3 separate regions of the Homo sapiens genome follow, and all the other regions are linked to region 2. Evidence: promoter capture Hi-C in 16 types of primary human blood cells and fetal thymus (Javierre and others, 2016). All regions are on one chromosome and are shown on one strand. The core of a region is centred on a gene start or on the middle of the fragment in contact, and the rest is flanking DNA. Distances in the headings are between cores, read along the strand shown.

What was found. The method cuts DNA at HindIII sites, captures the fragments that hold promoters and counts their contacts. A CHiCAGO score of 5 or more calls a contact.
Region 1: a contact is called between a fragment that was not itself captured here and the fragment with the promoter of LRRK1 in region 2, in 2 of 17 cell types (naive B cells and total B cells). The highest score is 9.0, in naive B cells.
Region 3: a fragment that was not itself captured here is called in contact with the fragment with the promoter of LRRK1 in region 2 in 5 of 17 cell types (M0 macrophages, monocytes, total B cells and 2 more); the score reaches 6.5 in M0 macrophages.

Annotation. Positions count from the first base shown.
Region 1 is chr15:99,929,460-99,932,159 of GRCh38, forward strand. No RefSeq gene overlaps it. Among named protein-coding and RNA genes, the nearest start is that of LYSMD4, 200 kb to the left of the region's middle. The HindIII fragment of the contact is 9,202 bases long and covers 1-2,700 here.
Region 2 is chr15:100,917,929-100,920,628 of GRCh38, forward strand. It overlaps LRRK1 (leucine rich repeat kinase 1), which reads left to right and starts at 1,429. Exons shown (of 34, transcript NM_024652.6): 1 at 1,429-1,523. It overlaps ALDH1A3-AS1 (ALDH1A3 antisense RNA 1), which reads right to left and starts at 1,355. Exons shown (of 2, transcript NR_135827.1): 1 at 876-1,355. RefSeq lists silencers at 96-315, 1,076-1,665 and enhancers at 101-693, 446-535, 586-705, 1,880-2,471. The HindIII fragment of the contact is 4,524 bases long and covers 1-2,700 here.
Region 3 is chr15:101,649,598-101,652,297 of GRCh38, forward strand. TM2D3 (TM2 domain containing 3) reads right to left here. Exons shown (of 6, transcript NM_078474.3): 1 at 2,674-2,700; 2 at 2,099-2,176; 3 at 407-564. Among named protein-coding and RNA genes, the nearest start is that of TM2D3, 1.4 kb to the right of the region's middle. RefSeq lists a silencer at 2,372-2,700. The HindIII fragment of the contact is 1,735 bases long and covers 584-2,318 here.

The sequences.
Region 1 (2,700 bases), core at 51-2,550, 990 kb before region 2:
TTGGGGATGGAGGACGGGCCACGGAACAGGGCGGCCTCTGCCTAGCAGCTGGAAAAGGTAAGGGACTAGGTTCTCCCAACGAACCTCCGGAAAGAAACGCAGCCCTGCCAGCAGCTTCATTTCAGCTCAGTGAGACCTCTTTTTACTCTTTCGACCTCCAGGACTGTAAGATCATAAACGTGTGTTGTTGGAAGCCAGCAAGTTTGTGGTAATTTGTCACAGCAGTCGTGGGCCCACTAAGACACCTGTCGTGGGCCTCGTGTCCAGAGGCCTCAGCTGAAATGCACTGGGGGCCTGGTGGTGTGTGTTAGGTCCACTTGGCTTGCTGTGTTGTTCAAGTCCTCTCATTTCCTTTCTTATCTTCTGTCTGGTTGTTCTTTCCATTATTGAAAGTGGGGGACTGAGGTCTCCGACGATTATTGTAGAACTACTTTTCCCTCCAATTCGCTCCCTTTCTGCTTTGCATATTCTGTTAAGTGCTAAATGTTTATAACTACTTATTCTTGCTGTATTGAATCTCTTCTCAATATATAATGTTCTTTGTCTCTTGTAACCTTGGACAAGATACAGACTACTTAGACTATTGAAAATCCTGACAGTGTATTTGAAACATGCACGTGGACATGGTTTTATTTTTCTCAGTTACTGCTTTCAACTGTGTGCTGATTGAAACTCCTTTCCCCTGGATAGAAGACCTATTAAAATAACCCAACTTTATTCACTAACTTGTCAACTACTTTTGGTCAGTCAGAATTTTGTCTTTGGCCAGAGTTAATCAGCTAACCCGTTGTCCCCAGATCATCAGTGCAGCTTCACCTGGGTACTTCTTATAAATGCAAATTCTCAGGCCCTGCCCCAGAAACTCTGGAGGTGGCCCTGCAGTCTGTGTTTAAGAAGCCCTCCAGGGGATCCTCAGGTGTGATAAACTTTGAGAATCAGCGGTAACCCATCTGCAGAGGTATTTCTATTATTTCAGTAATTATATTTTTAAAATTTTACTTTCTGGAAATACTTTTTAAAATTTACCTATTTTTTCATGTATCTTGATTCTTTTTTTCTGTTTTTATTTCTCATTTTAGGTCTTTAGTAATTTTAAGCCAATTTATCTTGTAGGCTCTGTTTTGATCATTCTACTGGCTTTCCATCCCTGAAGTTTATTGACTTGGAGTTGCCAGTGTTTTGTAATTTGGGATTGTGAGCTGGTCTTAATGGGGACTTCATCTATTGGAATCTTCTGTACCTTACATGAGAGTGGGTGCCTCCAGAGTGCTTTTGGGTTTGCTTCAGCCAGGTGCTTGGCGTTATCACCAGCCCAGGACTGCTTTGCATACCAATGTTTTGACCTGGGGATTTTCTGGCCCATGCATGTCATATACAGCCTAATCCCATCACATGAGTATGGGCCTGTGATGACAAATTGATAGGAGAATCATTTTCCCTACTCAGAGCCCAGGCCAGGTCTAATATCCCTGACATAACTGCCAGTGGGGGAACTTTCTCTAGATGATGATTACTGAGAGTGCATCCTGCCCTTGAAGGACCCCTCATTTATGAGTGTTGTGGGGCAGGTCCAAGGCTTCCTCTCCAATTCCTCACAGCATTAAAACCCAAGTCCCTAGGCCAGGGATGGTGGCACACGCCTGTAATCCTGGCACTTTGGGAGGCCAAGTTGGGTGGATCACATGAGGCCAGGAGTTCAAGACCAGCCTGGTCAACATGGCAAAACCCCATTTCTACTAAAAATAAATATAAAAACTAGCCAGGCATAGTGATGCACATCTGTAATCCCAGCTACTCGGGAGGCTGAAGCATGAGAATCACTTGAACCCGGGAGGTGGAGGTTGCAGTGAGCTGAGATTGTGCCACTGCACTCCAACCTGGGTGGCAGAGTGAGACTCTGTCTCGAAAAGCAAAACAAAACAATCCAAGCCCCTGAGTTAGTGAGAGGATGCCAGCCCTGGTGGGTGGGGAGATCATGAAGTTGTATACCTAATTGTTGGTTCCCAGTTCATCTTTTGGCCTTTACTTTCTGTTGAACTCTGCATTTAGAGTCTGTTCTATTGCACCAAGCAATTCTGAGCATATTGCGGTGGGTGTTGCCTTTCAGGTTACCTAGTTTCTCATATTGCTGTAAATAGAAGTCCCCTGATAGCTCATTTTGAAACGTCAATCTCTCTTCCCTTCTCCACCTAGTGCAGGCTAAACCTAGTGTTTCCATAGATGGAGAGTGGGGTAGGGGCAGTTGCACATGACTCTCCTGCTTCTTGGCACTTGCTGTTCTAATGTTGGGGTCAGGAAGAGGGGCTGGCAAGGCATGACTGTGGTGAGCTCTCCTCTTGCTTTTCGGGTGGTAACTGCTGGTCCAGCTTATTGTCCACAGCTCTGCATAGGTAGGAGGTGACCAGAAACCCTAGGCATGATGAGGTTCAGCTGCCCCTGTGGACCCCCAGATGGTGGCCTCATGGTGCGTTCTGGTGCACAGGCCTTCTGCTCCATGACGTGACCCCGTAGCCCCGGTCTCCTCTGCCGTTCAGGGCCTTCAGCCTGGGCCCTAGACACGCATGCCACATCCATCTTCTCCCCTCTTGGAACCCGAGGACTCAAAGCTCTACTGGCATCCCCTCTCCTCTGTCCTCATTTCCTGTTTCCCTGGCTACAGGAACACCTGACGATGCCCATTTGCAGCAAACCAACCATGGC
Region 2 (2,700 bases), core at 179-2,678:
CTAATGGCTAGAATTAAATGCTGGGAATATAACGAGCTCAGCACAGGTTATCCGCGTGTCAGATGTTCCTGCTGTCTTCTACAGTGGGGACATTTCCTAGCCTATTCCCAGGCTCCTTTAGAAGGGAAGTGGAGGTGCCCCATCTTCACCTGCCGCGTCCCCTCCAGCGTCTGCCCGGGCCCTGGGCCTGCGCTCCCTCGCGGTGGCGCCAGGTGGCGGGGCTGCGCGCCCTGGAGGAGCTGCACCGCCGTCGCGGGGCTCTCTCAGCACTGAGGACACCACGCCCTGCAAATTGTTGGGAACTTGTCGGTGGCAATCACACTGCTGGCTCCTGCAAACTGGTGTGAGGCCCTCAGGGGTGAGAACAGGATTGCAGAACTGCGCTCACCCTTTTGGAAAGTCGTCCAGTGGCAGAAGTAGCCTCCCAGGAGCAGAGCGAAGCTGCTCGGTGGTCCCCTCTCCAACCAGGGACCCAAGAAGCCGCTCAAGGGAACACGGCCCCGCGGCGTCCGGGAGGTCCTGCAGGAGCCCTGCGGCTGCCCCGGTTCTGTGAAATGGCAGTGAGGGTGGGGGAGATGTGCGCTAAATCCTGGGAACGTGCGAGTCATAACTTTCCAGGAGAGGGGCCCAGGGCGCTGGTCCTGCAGGGCGTGGAACCCTCTGCTCTTCCTGAGCAGGCTTTGTCCCCGGGTCGACACGGGGAGCTCAGCGTGAGGCCCGCCTGCAGCGTGGACGCAGATCTTTTTTATGGTCTGCGTTTCTGTATTAGCCTCAGCAGCCTGGTGACGCCTTTATAAAAGGTCGAAACACGATAAATTGCCAATATTCCACGTTTTATGTATTCCCCCCAAAGCCGACAATTAACAATGACTCACCGAGCAGCAGATTCTTTGCACACATCCATAATTGAATCAGTAAAATCCATGTGTTGGAGGATATGCAAATTGCAGGTCGTTAACGCTTTAGAACGACACATTTCTGTATCGCCCCGTGAAGAGCTCTACGCACATGAATGTTCCCCGTCTGTTTAACTGTTACGGCCGCAGTGTGTGGGCCGCAGGCGCGCTGGGGGCTCATCTGCTGATTTTGCTGCCCCTGGAGCAGAGGGATAGCGAAAGCGGGGCTGAGCGCAGCACGGACCGATCCCATCGCCGCGCTCGCCCCGCGTGGAGGCAGCCGGGTGCCCGAACCTGAAGGAGGACCCGGTGCCGGAAGGGCCCGCGGACCCCGGCGTCTCCCGGGGCATCGAGCGCCATCGCCCGCGTTTTACGGCCAGGGAAACTGAGGCGGCCGCCGAGGGGACGCCTCGCGACGGTTCCTGGGAGAGCTGGCGGCGGCCTTGCTCTGCGCGCTCTTCGCGCCGCCCTCCCCGCCCGCCCGCCTCAGGATTGAGGAAGTGCGTCTGGGCCCGGCCCCGGCGCGGGGGGCAGACGGCGGTGGGACGGCCAGGCCCCGGCCCCGCCAGTGTGTCCGCCCGGCCCCGCGTCCCGGAGCGCCCGCACCCGGCCCCGCCGCCGCCTCAGGTAAGCGCCGCTCCTGCCGGCGCCCCCCGGCGGCCTGGCTGCCTCCCGGCCCCGCCCGGGGAACCCAGAGCCCGCGCCCGGCGCCCGCGGGGAGCCTCGGCCTCTGCCTGCCCGCGGGCCCCTGCGCTCCGGGCGGCCGCGTGGTCGGGCACGGGGGGCCGTTGCGCAGGGGCCGCGGCCCGAGGGGCGCGGAGGGCGTGTGGGGCGACCCCGGTCTCACGTCCCCGCTGCCTCCCGCCGCGCCCGGAGCCCAGCCAGCCTGTGGGAGGGGAGCGCGCGGGGCCCGAGCAGGGAACCCCGAAACCCCGTCCGGGCAGGGTCGGGAAAGCTGGGAAGCGGAGGCAAGAGACACGAGTCGGGAGACACGAGCCGGGGAGCCCATAGGTTTCCTCTGCCTTTGGAGCGAACCCAGTCCCTTAGCGGGGAGCGGGCGGAGTGTGAGCGCGCGGGTGAGCCCGTGCCGGGGTGTCGGCAAGAGACCGCCCGGGAGCCTCTCGCTGGTCCGGGGCTTCCTGGGGTTGCGGGGCGGCCCAGCGAGGCTTCACCCTCCTCGATGTCTGGGTCACGCTTCTTGCCCAGGTGGTCTCTGGCTGGCGCAGATACAACTGCTCTGTCTACCATGGTCTCTGCAAGCTACAGGGGACCTTCCTGGCAGGCAGGGACGCGGGAAGGAAGCCTAGGAAGGCCGGGGTCAGCGAGGAGACGCTGGTGGAGAATCTGAGAACCCCCGTGGCCATCTCAACCTACCCCTTCACAGTATGAGGCCGCGAAGTTTTTCTCCCACGAACACTTCCCCTGCAACAGGTAGAGAAACGGGGGCATATAGCTTTCAGCAAACCTCTCACCGTGTACACTAATGATAGAGTTTGCCAGCCACTCACAGGGTATCAAAATGCCCAGACATTAAAGGGATAGCTAGAACATGCACAATTTTGGAAAATGTTAACATTAAACGCCTTTTATGATTTGATTCTCTTCATCTTTGCCTATGTCCTGAAAGAGAAAATAATATAACAAACTAACCTCACACCTAATTTGTTCCTAAAGGAGGTTTTGCGGTCAGCCAAACCTTTCCCTCTCCCAAAAGTCGATGTCTCTGGCAGTGACCTCGCAGTCAACTCGGATCCTCAGATAAAAAACATTCAGTCTGTTGAATCTATGTCTAAAATGTGTCCTG
Region 3 (2,700 bases), core at 201-2,700, 730 kb after region 2:
ACTGGCCCTTCAAAAGCTCATCTATGGCAGAAAGACACTGCCACCCCCTCTGTACACTAGCTGTCACTATTGAGAACACAGAATCCATCTGAACGAATTAGACTTGCTTCAGATATGCTAGTAGACTGAGATCTTCTCCAGTCCTACAAAGCAACATTTCTGTCAAGTGCATTTCCAGCAGACATCAACTGGCTTGACAGTTATCATTATAACTAAAACAGTAGTGAGCTGATATGGAAAGGTCTATTGGGTTTTTTAATTTATTTCTGCTTACATACTCAAAAGGGAAATCATAAAAGAATATAAAAATTCTTCAGAATTTCTTCCCAATAATCAAGTCTGAATTGTTCTTCTAACTTAAAGTTTACAATGAATTTATTTAGAATAAGTAAGCTGCAGTACTTACAACACAGGTAACAGATGGTTTCACTGCACAGTCAAAAGTGACAGGCTTCCCATAGGTACAGGAGAAATTTGTTGTGCAGTCTATACAGTCTGCAGGAAGCCTGCTACACAAACCATTGCTCGGACACTTCATCACATAAGGTGGGATTTCAGTACTTTCTGTGAGAGGCAAGAGAGAAGCTTATTCTCCTATAATACTGATTCGAATAACAGAGAACAATCTTCTAAGGTTAAGAGACGTGATCATTAGCAAGTAGACACTGCACTGGAAGGGAAGAAGCATGGGACTGGAGTCAGAGACACCTGCAATTAAAGCAGAATTCTGCCCACGGCCAGCTGTGGGACCTGGTGAGCACCACACTTGTAAAACATTACTTCATTCCTGCCTCCCACGTGGCCGTGAAAACTAAAGGTGCTCATATACAAATAATGTATAGAAAATTCTGGGTATACATTAAGGGCTTAAAAAAAAGACTATCATTTTGTAAGTTGAAAAAAAACTTACAGTAGGGTTTTGCAAAATCACAGAGGAAGTCTGTGGCAAAACTGGAACTAGAACCCAAATCTCTCCATTTCCAATCCCGTGTTCTTTTCATCTGAATTCACTAATTCAGAAATGAAGCCACTGACATCCTCAGGGCATCAACTTTAAAATGTCATTATTTCACACTGGTACTTCGATAAGCCACATTTGCTAATATAATATTTACAGTTTTACGCTACCAAAGTTCAAAACAGTTCTCTACTTTAATAACATCTTCAGTAAGCTGCAACTTATTTCCAACCAACCTAATGAGTGTGCAATGTATTTTTACCAACTGAAAGGATCAAAATTGCAAGTATTCCTGAAAAGAAGGGCTTTCAAAAGCCTGCAAGAGTTAAGAACTCTTGTGCTTTCTCTAAAAAGTAATCTGAGTTTAAAATTCAAGTGCACTGCTGTTTTTTACATCCAAATAAGAATCAGTAAAATATCTCTGCCAGTTTCAATTCACTGAAGTAATGTCACTTTAAAGTGATGAAATTATAGTCAGAGCCTCCACCTAGCAAAACACACTAATGCTTGTTTAAAACTGGTCCTACTTTACTCACTGTATTAAGGAACAATTCTACAAAATACTCTTTTTGATCCCGTGACTATGTGGCTGGAAGGTGGACACTTAGAATCACAAAGCAGAAATGACTTTAGGTCGTCAGACCAACCCCACCGCTTTAAAGATGAGGACCAAGGTCCAAAGAGGATAAATAATTTGTTCAAGATCCCAGTAGCAAAACCAGATCTAGATTTCAAGTCTCCATCAGTCCCGCTGTAATCCTTCCATTTCCACAGTCCTGAGGGAGCCTTTAATATTCCAACATCAGGAACAGGGTTTTAGCAGTAGAGGAAATTTGCTGAAGGGAAAGAAGCACGGACTGAAGGTTATTTTGATGGATGAAGTGGAAAAATAATAGAAATAAGGTGACAAATGAGCGTGGGATTGGAAAAAGAGAGGAGGCAGAAACGTCAAAAGGTATAAATACGAAGACTATCTACTGAAAATGGCTGTGTATCTACCCTTAATTCACATAATCTAAAATACAATAAATATTCAAAAATGGAAAGTGACTTCGTATACTAAAGGGAATTTTTATAAAAACAAAGAGAAACTACTAGAGATAACTACATGTATTTACTAGAATAGAAAACGTCTAGTACCTGCTGCCCTGGGAACTACTGTGAATGTGCGTGTTGGGCCCGGATCCTTTATTGACTGAGCCAGCGCCTGCGATTGCTCTAAATTTAAGGATCGTACAATTAGAGAAACACGTTATCCCGGGACAAGAAAACCTTATTTTGTGTGGTTAACACGGCGGGTCTACACCAGGCCAATAAGCTGCTCATGAAAACCTCACGGCTGGTCAGCCAGAAAACACAAAGCTTAGGGACGAAACGTCAACAGAGTAGACATCAGTTCAGGTCAGCCGGCAACGAGGGACCGAAGGATGACATCGCGCTCCAGTTCCGCCTCCCCGGCCCAGCCCCCAAGCGCTCCATCTCCGTGCCAGGGCTCCGCAGCCGCGATGGCGGGCTCGGTGTCGCCGGAGCGGAGGGGCGGCCTCGGGCCGGGCGGCCAGGGCGCCAGACTCCAGATGCAGCGACAAGCGGCCCGGAGCCCGGCACTCGGCCTCCTCCCCGCGTCAGCGTCCGCCCGTGGGCCCGGCCTCCTCGCAGCTCCCGGGGCCCTGCTGCCACTCAGCCCCACCCGGCGCTGAACCCAGCCTTTGACTCACCACCGCCCGACAGAATGCAGAACTGCG